Linked DNA regions of Homo sapiens: regions 2 and 3 are each linked to region 1. Evidence: promoter capture Hi-C in 16 types of primary human blood cells and fetal thymus (Javierre and others, 2016). All regions are on one chromosome and are shown on one strand. The core of a region is centred on a gene start or on the middle of the fragment in contact, and the rest is flanking DNA. Distances in the headings are between cores, read along the strand shown.

Region 1 (4,510 bases), core at 1,957-4,456:
CAGGCCACTGTGGCTGTCCCCGTTCCAGGTGGTGGTCATCCCTGTGGGGAGTGAGCAAGAGGAATACGCCAAAGAGGTAAGGAGTTGAGGTAAGGGAGGGGGCAGAAGCAGGTCCAGTAGAGAGTCTGGTGCCCTGCAGTGGGCAGGAAGAGGCTGCAGGGGTGGTAGAGGAAGGAGCACAGCCCTCACAGCCACAAGACTGGGCTCGAGTGGCTGCTGTCCTAGATGCTGGAAATCCTGTATCTAAAAAATGTGACTAATGCCTACCTTGTAGAGATGTATGAAAATTAAACAAATTAACAAATGTTGAAAGCCACCAAAAGAGCACTTGGCACAAAACTGGGATTGAGTACACAGTTTTATTTTTCCTTTCTAGAGAGAATTGAGGATATGGATGGTACCAGAGTCAAACAGCTGGTTGGGTAGAGCAGTGGCTAGAAGGCAAAGTCCACGGAATAACTGGGGGGTCATCTCCAGTAGGAGGCAGAAAGATTGTGGGGTTGGGGATGAATGGGGAGGAGGCCTCAATGTGGAGATGAAATGAGGAGAGGTTGCTGGTAAGAAGTGGAGAGCCCCGAGGCAGGGAAAGGAGGAACAGATGGGGGCATTGAGGGAAAAGAGCATCAGACTGTTCTAGCTCCTTAACTTTCCAGTAAATTAACTTCCTGTCACCAAACCTCTGTTGCAGGCACAGCAGAGCCTGCGGGCTGCAGGACTGGTCAGTGACCTGGATGCAGACTCTGGACTGACCCTCAGCCGGAGAATCCGCCGGGCCCAGCTTGCCCACTACAATTTTCAGTTTGGTAAGCTGAACCTCAGAGCCAATGTTCTCCCACCTGCCGTCTGCATTCTTGCTGTTAAGTTTACCAAGTCTGGTAATGCATATTTGGGTTAATTGGGGCTCATTACCTGAGCAGGTAGGAGCCAGGATTCAGGACACCTGACTCATTTGGGCCCTGTGTTCCTTCACATTGCCCTGCCCTCCCCATAACCACTTCTGACACTCAAAATAGTTTTCCTCTTTTTAACTCCACTCTAGCTGTTGGTGTCTGTTAGGTTAATTAACCAAGGGAGCATCAGAGAGAAAGGGACGGGAGGGTTAATACAGCGTTAATTACCCTTGTTTATTTTAGACCTAGATGGAATCAGCCCTAAGGGATGAGGAGAAAGGCCTTAGGGAGAAAATTCTGGCACTGCCATGCTCCCTTTTTCATTTTCCAGGGTTCAGGGCTCTATCTCAAAGGTGAGGAGCAGAAACTCCTCAGCCAGATTACCTGATTCTTGAGTTTTGCACACCCCACTCTCCCTACAAGCACCCAGAGCAAGCTGTGCTGCAATCCCAGGGACTTGTACATGGCCCCTTTCCCTCCCTTACCGCCCAGTCAGCCCCTGCATACATCCTCCTCAGCAGAGGCCCCTCACTCTGTGAATCCAGCCCTAACAGACACCAAGAGCCAGAGTGGGACTGATGAGAGGAAACTGTTCTAAGGGTCAGAGTGGTTGGGGGGAGGCGGGGCAGTGTGAAGGCCACACCACTCCTGCCACCTTCCACTTGCTCTAATACCCCCTTCAGACACGCGCGCGCACACACACACACACACACACACACACACAGTTTCTCTCTGTGGGGTTCTCATTGTTTGTCTTTCTCTGCTTGACTCTAATGTCTCTGACACACACACACACACACACACACACACACACAGTTTCTCTCTGTGGGGTTCTCAGTGTTTGTCTTTCTCTGCTTGACTCTTATGTCTCTGACCCTGGGGCTCTTGACCAGAAGCGATAAGGCCTGCGGGGACTGAAGCACTTCCTTGTCTCCTCAGGATGAGCAGGACTGGTCATTTAGTATTAGCAGACACAGCTGAATACTTCCTTTCTGTGAACCATATCTGGGCTCTGCTCCCACCCTTCCTAAAGATTTAGGTCTCTCAAGTTTCTGCAGAGCAAAAGAAACTGTTCCATGTGGGTGAATTTGCCCTGAGGTTCCCAAACTTCCTCTACCTGCAGTGGTTGGCCAGAAAGAGCAAAGTAAGAGAACAGTGAACATTCGGACTCGAGATAATCGTCGCCTTGGGGAGTGGGACTTGCCTGAGGCTGTGCAGCGACTGGTGGAGCTACAGAACACGAGGGTCCCAAATGCCGAAGAAATTTTCTGAGCCTTTGTACATAGATGAGGCAAAAACCTGCGAGTGCCATCAGCCTCCCTCACATGGGAGACCCCAACCCAGCTGACAATGTGGAGCCCCCAGAACTTCAGAACTGTGTGGAGGCACATGTCTGCTCTCCTGAAAAGAGACTTGGTTTGGGGACCCCACAAAAGGAGGGAAGCTGTAGCTGTTTGGATGTGAGGAGAATGAAACTACAAAAAAAAATAAATTGGGCCAGGCGCAGTGGCTCATGCCTGTAATCCCAGCACTCTGGGAGGCTGAGGCGGACGGATCATGAGGTCAGGAGATCAAGACCACCCTGGCTAACACGGTGAAACCCTGTCTCTACTAAAAATACAAAAAATTAGCCGGGCATGGTGGCACACGCCTGTAATCCCAGCTACTCAGGAGGCTGAGGCAGGAGAATCGCTTGAACCCGGGAGGTAGAGGTTGCAGTGAGCTGAGATTGCGCCACTGCACCCCCCTAGGCGACAGAGCGAGACTCTGTCTCTAAATAAATAAATAAATAAATAAATACAAACTGGAAGCTGCTGGTCATATGTCTTCATCTCTGACTCTGGAGAGGTGGGATAAAAGGATGTTCCACTTTGTCTCCCTCTTTTTTGTCCCAGAGAGTTAGGGAAATTGAAAAGGGACAGTCCAGACCTCACACTGGTAGGGGAGATCCCTTGGATAGGTTTCCTGCTCCCCGCTGTAAACTCCTTTGTGCCCTGTTTCCCCAACCCCAGTTCATGAGTTGGCAGATCCCCTCTCCACAGAAGGCAGCCTGTAGATGGAGAAACTGAGGCACAAACTAGGGGCTCAAACACCTCTTGCTCCTGGATTCTCTGAATCAGTTTCTCTTGAAGGTCATAAGAATGTTCTCCTCTAATCAGTCCCATTCTTCTCAATCCTCTGAGGAGGCTTCAGGGTGACTTTGGGAGGAGTGGCTTCCAGAGGAGGAGCAGCTGGGACTGAGTCATGGCAGGAAGCTGAGGAGGGCGGGAGATCACACCAGACAATTATAAAAGAAGAGCTGGTCCTGAAGCTCACAACCGTAACAGCCACCAGACAAGCTTCAGTGGCCGGCCCTTCACATCCAGACTTGCCTGAGAGGACCCACCTCTGAGTGTCCAGTGGTCAGTTGCCCCAGGATGGGGACCACAGCCAGAGCAGCCTTGGTCTTGACCTATTTGGCTGTTGCTTCTGCTGCCTCTGAGGGAGGTGAGTTGGGGGATCAGCACTTAGGAGGGGGTCTGGGCTTGCATGGCAGGGGTCTGGGTCCAGGCATCCCAGACGGCTCATCACTAGCAGAGTGATTCTCCGTTTGGCTTTCCTTTTCTGAGCAGGCCCAAAGTGGGCCTAGGCCAGTGGAGCCTTTAACCAAGGAGGCAGAGAGCAGGGGCACAGAAGGAGAGGGGTTCCTAGAAACTGCTGCCAAGAAACACAGAATCCCAGTCAAATAGACAACTGAGTGGGGGGTGGGTTCACAGAGTGAGGGTCTCCTGCTGATGAGGATGTAGGGAGGTGGCTGGTGGGAGAGGCAAGGGAGGGAAAAGGGGCCCCCAGGCTGCTCAAAACCGGATTGCTGGCCCAGCAAGCCTCGACTGACTCCCTGTCTGATTAGAGGAGTTGAGGGGTGTCCATCCACAGACCCACCCTCCATCCAGCACAAACACATTCTTTATCTGCTTTGATGCCTGAACAAAACAGGAACCCCTCAATGCTATGGGTGGAAACTAAGAAAAAAAGGAAAAGAAAAGGAAAAAAACCACCCAGGGCACTCCTGCAGGAAGCTGCTGAGGATGTCAGCAAATCTGTCCACTTCTCTGTGAAGCCCCATGCCATCATTCTTCCCAGCTCCTGGTCTTTTGTGTCTGCAGATCACCTACAAGTGACCCTTCCCTGTGCCTGTCCCAGTCCCCCAGGCCCTAAATTGAGACCTAAACTAAGGCGGAGCTGAGACTGGCTGAAGGGGAAGCACTCAACCTTCAGGAAGCCTCCTTAACCAAAGGCCTAAAGATGTTTCAAGGGCCTGGAGTAGGAGGGTGGGTGGAGGAGGTGGATTGGGTAGGCTCCAACCAGCTCAAGGTCCAGACTTTTTCCTCTGAAAGCTAGAGACGCATCCCAGCAGAGACTGGGGAGGACAACCCACAGCCCTGAGGGAAAGACTGGCAGAGGAAATGAGGGCCTCCCTCCCCAATCCCGTATGCCATACTCCCTTTAGGCCCAACCTCTGAGCCAGTAGAGGTGGAGCTATCAGACCGCCACAGGCTTTCTCAGAACCCAGCTGGTCATGTCTAGGTGTGTTGGGGCTGGGAGAGGATTAGGGGACACGGGGCAGGTGAATACAGAGG
Region 2 (4,510 bases), core at 1,413-3,912, 320 kb after region 1:
TGATCTCAGTTCACAGCAACCTCTGCCTCCCAGGTTCAAGTGATTCTCGTGCCTCAGCCTCCCGAGTACCTGGGATTACAGGCATGCACCACCATACCAGGCTAATTTTTTGTATTTTTAGTAGACATGGGGTTTCACTGTGTTGGCCAGGCTGGGCTTGAACTCCTGGCCTCAAGTGATCCACCTGCCTCAGCCTCCCAGAGTGCTGGGATTATAGGCGTGAGCCACCATGCCCAGACGAGGAAAACATCTATTTTCACAGCATCTACAGAGGTTGGGCGCATGAGCCACCATGCCTGGCGCAATAGTTTAAATACCTTAAAGACAGCTCCTTGGATACAGTTAATTGAATACAAGACAGTAAATAGCCAAAGCCAAACAGAAATACCTTGGGCATTATCCATAATTTCAAAGTATTAGTCCTTTTCTATTCCTTAAAAATGCAGATTAACTACTAAAGAACATAAAACTGTAGTGCCTGCCACAGTGTTCAGTTAATCAGTAGTCAATATTTATGGAGTGAATATGACAAATATTTATTCAGAACCAAACCAGGAAAAAAGTTACCTGTTGGAAGCTGTCTCTTAGAAGCTGCTGGTCTTCAGGATGACAGAATTCTACAATATTCTTTCCTAAGAGTTCCTAGAATACAGAAAGAAGAGTAAGATATATACTTTTTTTTTTTTAAGATGGAGTTTCGCTCTTGTTGCCCAGGCTGGAGTACGATGGCGCGATCTTGGCTCACTGCAACCTCCACCTCCTGAGTTCAAGCAATTTTCCTGTCTCAACCTCCCAAGTAGCTGGGATTACAGGGGTGTGCTACCACACCTGGCTAATTTTGTATTTTTTTAAATAGAGACAGGGTTTCACCATGTTGGTCAGGCTGGTCTCGAACTCCTGACCTCAAGTGATCCACCCGCCTCGGCCTCCCAAAGCGCTGGGATTACAGGTGTGAGCCACCGTGCCCAGCCAACATATATAATTTTATGGTCATCTAACTGGCCTGGTCCATCAGCTGGGGACCTGGATTTTATTTCTTCTGTTTTAATCCTAAGATTATAGTTAAGTGAGGAGGAGAAAAAAAAAAGACAATAAACAAAAGATGAAATCTACTAAAAAAAGGCAGAATCTGTTAAGGAGCTGGCTTCTAAAACATTTTTCTTTCTCAGAATATTATACATTTATTTTAATGAGATTATAAATTTTAGATAAAATTTACATTCATAATTCAGCCATTCTAAGTGTATGATTTGATGATGTCTACTAAATTTATAGTTGTGCAATGATTACCACAATCCAGTTTCAGAACACATTCACTGCCCCAAGATGTTCCCTTGTGCCATCTGCAGTCAATCTCTGCTCCCACTCCAACTCCCCAGCCAACCACAAATCTGCTTTCTGCCTCTCTAGTTCTGCTATTTCTACAAATTTCATATAAATAAAACAACATAATATGTGGTCTTTTGGGTCTGGCTTCTTTCATTGAGCATGGTATTTTTGAAGTTCATCTACATGGCTGCATTATCAGTAGTTTATTCCTTTTTATGCTCAGTAGTATTCTCACATGGATACAACACAGTTGTGTATTCATTTACAAAATGTTAATGGACGTTTAAATAGTTTTCATTTTTTTGGCTATTATGAATAATACAGATATGAACTGTGTACAAATCTATGGGTGAACATGTTTTCATTTCTCTTAGGTAGATACTCAGGAATAAAATTGCTAGGTTATAGGCTAAGAGTATGTTTAACTTTGTAGGAAACTGCCAAAATGCTTTTGCAAAGCTAGTAGCTATACCATTTTACATGTCTATCAGCAATGTATGAGGGTTCCTTCCAGCTTCTACACATTTTCACCAATACTTTTTGATTACAGCCATTCTAGTGGGTATATAGTGGTATCTCATTGTGATTTTAATTTGCACTTTCCTAATGGTAAAAAGATGTTGAGCATCTTTTCATGTGCATAAATGCATATTTATTCTTCAGTCAAATGTCAAGTCTTATGCTCTTTTTTACCAGCTGTTTGTCTTAATGAGTTGTTTATATATTCCTGGTACAAATCCTCTTTCAGGTATATGACTTGTAACTATTTTCTCTCCATTTATGTCTGGTCTTTTCATTTTCTTAATAATATCCTTTAAAGAGGGCAAATTTTAATTACAATTAAATCCAATTTATAATTTTTTTTCTTCTGTGAATCATGCTTTTAGTGTAAGAAATCTTTTGCCTAACTCAAAATCACAAAGATTTTCTCCTAGGAGTTTATTTGTAACTTTAGCTCTTACACATTTAGGCCTCTAAGCTGATTTTTGTAAATTGTATGAGGTAAGATCTATGTGTTTTCATTTTTGGGTGTGGTTTTTTTTTTGTTTTTTTTTTTTTTTGCATACAGATATCCAATTGTTCCATTTGTTAGAAATATTTATTTTATCCATTGAATTGTCTTGTCACCTTTGCTGAAAATTAGTTGACAAGTATAAGAATAGACCTTATTCTGGTCTATTGATCTATATATCTATCCTTACACCAACACCACAGTGTCTTGGTAATAGCTTTATAGTTAGTGTTGAATCAGGTAGTGTAAATTCTCTTTGTTCTTTGTTTTCAAGACCTCTTTTTCACCAACCTCTTTCACATAGCCACAGCCAGAAGTCCTTCCGACCCACAACAGTTTTAAAAGTTTATATGATGCGTCAATTCAGAGATGGCTAACTGGTCTGTTGCATGAGTAAATTATAATAACTGGTGCTAAATCTGCATGTTTTATGGGCCATTATTCATTTAGGTAATTACATGAATTATCTAAATGTAGCTATACTGGTATAACTAATTAATATGAGTACCTTTGAATCATCTGTATTAATATCAACAACAAAAAATAAATACATATTTGTACCTGCTGCTCCCACCTGGTTTGACAAGCCATATTTCTCTACATGAGATGACAGTCCTAATAGGAAGCTGAAAATAATGTTAGGTACTAACAGAATATGATGATCTCTTTTTCTTAACTGAGGTTGATATGTTTTGGCTGTCTTAGGAACTACATGATTACATAATGTCAACATAGCCAAAGGAAAATGGAGGCCTAATGGAGCTCCAGCTCCTCACCTGTGGCTGGTAGCCAACAGTAGCCACACAGCGGTGATCCACAAAAGTGAAGATACCCTCAATGTTGTGTCGGGAGATGAACTCTGTTGGTTGACAAACATTACTCATGTCTGTACAGTTGGGAGAACTAGTTACCTGAGAGTGAAGAGATAAAAATGAGGTAAAATGATACCATTATTTACAGATGTATTTCCTATCTCCTCATGGTCTTTTGCATAGACATAAGATTCCCAGTTTTAGGACTTTCTAAACTTTCACATTTTATCCAAAAAGGAAAAAAAAATGACAATCACAATCAGACAAGGCATAAGGTCTAGCTCTGCTCCCATACATTTACACTTTACCAAGTTAGTAAAGTAAGAATAAAGTTTATTCAATCTAAAATCCACATACTGGCTATGCTGAACTCATTACTCAGGTTGATATGGTACAAGTAACCAAGAAACTTATCTATACTTATGAAAAAATCAAAATAATTCCACTTTTCTATTGTTAGTCAGGTAATGATACAATGAAAAGGATCTTTCTTCTTTTGTATAGGGGCAAAGGAAATTAACTGGAAATAGAAAATTAAGCATAGTAAAGCTAAAATTAAGACAAGGGGAAAAAGATCTCCCTCCTCTCATACTTTTCAACTTTACTTAAATCCAAGAATAGCAATGGTCACTATAAATGCCATATTCCTTCAAATTTTGAGAGTTTTATGGAATTCTTCATTTGTATTCAGAAAGTAAAAGAAAATTAACAGGAATGAGTCCTGAAGATCTGCTCTAATTGAACGGGAATATAGATGTGGAAAATTCATACTTGCCTGCAATCTGCCAATGGCCACTAGGCAAAACTTGCTTCCCTGGCCAGCCTCTGGGTCATCATCTGGGAGGGAAACACCTTCAGAAACGTGACGTTAAAAGGTTTAACGGGGACCTCCAACTCAAATGCCTTCAAAACTCAGACAAGTAAAGATTCAAAATAGACCTATTTATGGGCCAGGCACCGTGGCTGACGCCTGTAATCCCAACACTTTGGGAAGCCAAGGTGGGCGGATCACTTGAGGACCAGCCTGGCCGACACAGTGAAACCCCATCTCTACTAAAAATACAAAAATTAGCCAGGCATGGTGGCATGCACCTGTAATCCCAGCTACTTGGGAGGCTGAGGTGAGAGAATCACTTGAACCCAGGAGGCGGAGGATGCAGTGAGCCGAGATCGCACTACTGCACTCCAGCCTGGGCGACAGACAGAGTGAGACTCCCTCTCAAAAAAAAAACCAAAAAGCAAAACAAAACAAAATACATCTAGTTATGAAGAGGCTAAGCATAAAGCAATAGAGAATGATAAATAAGAATAAACAAGTATATAAAACTTACCATATATGCCAGTCATTGTTTTAAGT
Region 3 (4,510 bases), core at 581-3,080, 280 kb after region 1:
ACAAAAATATTTTCTGTGTCAAAACTCTTCAATACTTCCATATTGCCTACTAATTTGAACCAAAGTCCTTATTCCAGTATTTCAGATGCTGTACAAAACAAAAGCATTGCTCTATCTTTGCAGTTTCATCTTTGCTATCCTCACACAAGAACCTTATACTCTAAGCAACTAGTTTTCCTCATATTTCCAGATCATCTATGCTTGTCACCCTCTGCACTGTTGACTTGCTTAATGATCCTAATAGTCCTAGCTAACATTAATTGGATGCCAATTATATGCCAATGAGTGTGCTAGACTCTTTGTGCATTATTATTTAATCTTCACAACTCTATGAGGTAGATATTATTATCCTCATTTTACAGAGGAGAAGTTAAACTTCTGAGAGGCTAACTTGTTCAAGAGGACAAAACTGTCCATTGACCTAGAAGTGAACCAACCTTGTTTTTAAAGTAGTGCTTTCCCAAAATTATCGTGTTGCCTCTCTCTTTCTGGAATTTCCTTTTCTCATTTCTGCTGCTTGAAATTCTGCTCCTCCTTAATGGCCCATCTCTGAAAATAGCTCTTACAAAAAGCCTTTCTCGGCCAGGTGCAGTGGCTCACGCCTGTAATCCGAGCACTTTGGGAGGCCGAGGCGGGTGGATCACCTGAGGTCAGGAGTTCAAGACCAGCCTGACCAACACGGCGAAACCCTGTCTCTACTAAAAATACAAAATTAGCCGGGTGTGGTGGCGCATGCCTGTAGTCCCACCTACTCAGGAGGCTGAGGTGGGAGAATTGCTTGAACCCGGGAGTCGGAGGTTGCAGTGAGCCGAGATCGCACATTGCACTCCAGCCTGGGCAACAAGAGTGAAACTCCGTCTCAAAAAAAAAAAAAAGCCTTTCTTTATCCCCAACTGGATGTCACTTTTTGAGCTTCTACCAAGCTTTGAGGCTTTGAGGCTCCTTGTGGCAGACACATAGACTGAGCGCAGAAAAACCATCCTCTTAATTTTCTGTTTAATATGATAATTATTTGTATTTTTGCCTTATGTAACTACCTGTTAGCCCATAAAGTACAGGGGCCCTGTAGCTCCTACTCTTCTTCGTGTCCTCCACAGTATATGATGCGATGGTCAGCAGACACTAAATAAATATTTTCTGATGATTTAAATTATTTCAGCACCTTCATTCCAGTCTGTTGTGGAATCTCATCCTGCACATCACTGCCAAACTGTGCTCCTAAAACACATTTTTATCATGCTGTTTTCTAGAAATGTTTTCTGTTGCCTGCTGCATGAAGTCCTGCGCCCCTGCCTTCCAAGGCTCTTTCCCCATGCTCTGGATCCCTTTCCTGAGCATTTTACTCAATTTGTTTTTGTTTTTGTTTTAAAGAGGGGGTCTCGCTCTGTTGCCCAGGCTGGAGTGCAGTGGCGCGATCTCGGCTCACTGCAAACTCTGCCTCCCTGGTTCAAGCAATTCTCTGCCTCAGCCTCCCGAGTAGCTGGGATTACAGGCACACGCCTCCATGCCAATTTTTTGTAGTTTAGTGGAGATGGGGTTTCACCGTGTTGCCCAGGCTGGTGTTGAACTCCTGAGCTCAGGCAATCTGATGGCTCATGCCTGTAATCCCAGCACTTTGGGAGGCCGAGGCTGGTGGATCACTTGAGGCCAGGAGTTTGAGACCAGTCTGGCCAACATGGTGAAACCACGTTTCTACTAAAAATATAAAAATTAGTGCCTCATCTGTAGTCCCAGCTACTTGGGAGGCTGAGGCACGAGAATCACTTGAATCCAGCAGGCGGAGATTGCAGTGAGCTGAGATCGCACCATTGCACTACAGCCTGGGTGACAGAACAAGACTAGTCTCAAACAACAACAACAACAACAAAAACAAACAAACAAAACCCCAGATTTTGAAAACTCAGCCTCTGATGTAGCCATGCTGGTCCCATGGACCTCCCCAGTTGCCCAATCATTCTTGCCTCCTTTCTAGAATGGCTCTCTCCATTCCTTGGCCTCTTTGTTCTGCAAGATCCACTTCAAGTACTGCCTCCTCAGAGCCTTCTCTAACTACCCCAACTCTTCTTCCCTCTAGCTACACTTGCACGATACAAATTGTACCACGAAATTCTGATTCTGTATTTGTAGCACGTAAGATAGTTTTATCTCACTAGCTAACTTGAAAATACAGGATCTTGTCCTACTCATCTTTGTATTGCACTGTGGCTTAACACATATTTAGATAATAATCAATAAACATTCATTGAATTAACTTTTCCTAATTATAATATTCTACATGGTTTGTCTTCATTTCTGGTTCATCATGACTTGGCAGTGGCTTCTGAGGCTTTAAGCCTTAGGTTTCTCTTTGAATCTCCTCCTGGTATGCAAAAGTCTGTAAACACATACAGTGTTTGAATACATTAGGGGAACATGTCATTAGATAATCTATCCTTGTATCACTTAAGGTATTTTATAAACTTACACATCATCCTGTGACATTCCAAAGCTGTAAACTGGATTTTTGCAAAGCTGTAAATTGCCCTGAAATGGGGCACACTTTTTGCAAATTTATTTCAATAGCGATTGAAAACAAAAAAACAAGGCAAATGTTTTGCACAACAGTTGCACAACAACTAAGTCTTATCCAGAATGCTGCACAACACTAAGTCTTATCGGGAATGCAGACTCCCTTTCATCACAAACGAGGCAACATCTCCTGAATAACGTGGAAAAGGAGAAATGAAAGCAAAATAAGGAAGCTTTGTCCCTGCTTGTTACAGTTGTACCTTTTCAAGCTTTTGAAGTAACCATCTCTTAGCTTCATGCCCCCTGAAAATCAGCTGCTTTAAGTTTCTCTGTCTTATTTAGTCTGTGTGTGTGTGTGTGTGTGAGAGAGAGAGAGAGAGAGACAGTCTTGCTCTGTCGCCCAGGCTGGAGTGCAGTGGTGCAATCTCGGCTCACTGCAACCTCCACCTCCACGTTCAAGCAATTCTCCTGCCTCAGCCTCCTGAGTAGCTGGGATTACAGGCGCGCCATCACGCCTGGCTAATTTTTGTTTTTTGTTTTTTTTTGTAATAGAGACAGGGTTTTGCTATATTGGCCAGGCTGGTCTTGAACTCCTGACCTCAGGCGATCTACCTGCCTCAGCCTCCCAAAGTGCTGGGATTACAGGCGTGAGCCACTGCGCCCTACCCTTATTTAGTCTTAAAGAAAAGGATTTTGAATTTTAGGATGATTCATTCCAATGCTAGTTCTAGTCTCTGTTAATTTACCCAAGTGTGCTAGGAATTTAATAACATACATTATTTTCATAATAAAATAGTTTACTTCTTACTGACCTCACTGTCCAAGAAATGCACAAAGGTGAGGTGAGGAATACCCTTCATGGACTATAGGAGAATATGGGACTAGAAAAGACGATTTTACCATAATGTTGAGTTTCCCCTCAATTAACTTTATGTTAATATTATGCAATAACTTTCTGAAGAAAGAAAACAGAATTCTTGAGTCATTAGGGAAAATAGGAATGTTCTGAATTGAAAATATATATTCTTTCTGATATTCTGTGTAGCTTATCTGCTTGGTGCATTATTTGATCCTAGTAGACATCCCCCATTATCCTACAAGTACTCCTTGTCACCTAGCAATGTGTACTCAAAGAAGGAGCTTAATTTTACCAAGAGAACAAAATAAGACATAATTAGGGAGTACTCTAGAAGCCAGTGATAAGACCCCTCCCCTAACAAATGAATAACAATTGGTGTGACACATTTGATGTGTTACAATTAATTACAAAGTAAGTCACAAGAAATGTATTACTAATAAAAAAGTACCAACAGTTTGAAAGTGACATGTTTAACAATTAGAGCCAATTCAGCAGATTATCCCTATAATAATATTATGTTGATAGATGTGCATTCCAGTATGCTTTCTGGGAGAGAGAAGGGGAGAATTATGGGTAGCTACCAACGACTGATATTATTTTGTGAGCGTGTCCGTGGAAATGTGTCGAAAATGTGAACAACATCTGTCTTCTCTATAGTAATATGGGAAAGTTGAGAATAGCTAAGCTAAAAGGTGTTGGAAGTATACTTTTTTTCACCAGCTTCCCTTCCTCCTTCTCGTGGTAACAGCACCCTGATTTTAAAATGGGGAAACCCTGACACTCCTGGGCTTAAGATAGAACCAATCTTGCCCCTAGCTTCAAGAGTGGGCATAGGTCCCAAGGCCAGCCTGTCAAAGTTTTGTATCCCTCCAGCTACAATGACTGGTTGGGGAATGAGCATGTGACACAATCACAGCCTGCAAGACCTGTATCACGAGGTTCTTTGTTGCAAAGAAGAGTAGTCGATTTTGGCTGACTCAGAATTTGGTAGAAGTTACAAACTGTAAAATGTGGAACTGGCTGAATGGAGGGCGTGGGGATAGGGCAATGAGGACTCTAGTCCAAACTGGAAATTATGAATTCATGAAATATCTGTTGCCTATTGTTTTGGGGTAAGACCACAGGCCCACTGGAGTGTGGTAT

The links. Contacts are between HindIII fragments. The CHiCAGO score rates a contact against its expected background, and 5 or more counts as called.
Region 2: a fragment that was not itself captured here is called in contact with the fragment with the promoter of ECM1 in region 1 in 1 of 17 cell types (neutrophils); the score reaches 6.5 in neutrophils.
Region 3: a contact is called between a fragment that was not itself captured here and the fragment with the promoter of ECM1 in region 1, in 1 of 17 cell types (neutrophils). The highest score is 6.5, in neutrophils.

Annotation. Positions count from the first base shown.
Region 1 is chr1:150,504,903-150,509,412 of GRCh38, forward strand. ECM1 (extracellular matrix protein 1) reads left to right here and starts at 3,207. Exons shown (of 10, transcript NM_004425.4): 1 at 3,207-3,377. The coding sequence starts at 3,308. TARS2 (threonyl-tRNA synthetase 2, mitochondrial) reads left to right here. Exons shown (of 18, transcript NM_025150.5): 16 at 4-76; 17 at 689-803; 18 at 2,014-2,700. The coding sequence ends at 2,162. The HindIII fragment of the contact is 8,833 bases long and covers 1-3,227 here.
Region 2 is chr1:150,825,976-150,830,485 of GRCh38, forward strand. ARNT (aryl hydrocarbon receptor nuclear translocator) reads right to left here. Exons shown (of 22, transcript NM_001668.4): 11 at 3,929-4,005; 12 at 3,118-3,252; 13 at 568-642. Among named protein-coding and RNA genes, the nearest start is that of CTSK, 20 kb to the left of the region's middle. RefSeq lists enhancers at 1,567-1,711, 2,132-2,276 and cis regulatory regions at 1,639, 2,204. The HindIII fragment of the contact is 5,500 bases long and covers 1-4,510 here.
Region 3 is chr1:150,785,312-150,789,821 of GRCh38, forward strand. No RefSeq gene overlaps it. Among named protein-coding and RNA genes, the nearest start is that of CTSK, 21 kb to the right of the region's middle. The HindIII fragment of the contact is 1,818 bases long and covers 922-2,739 here.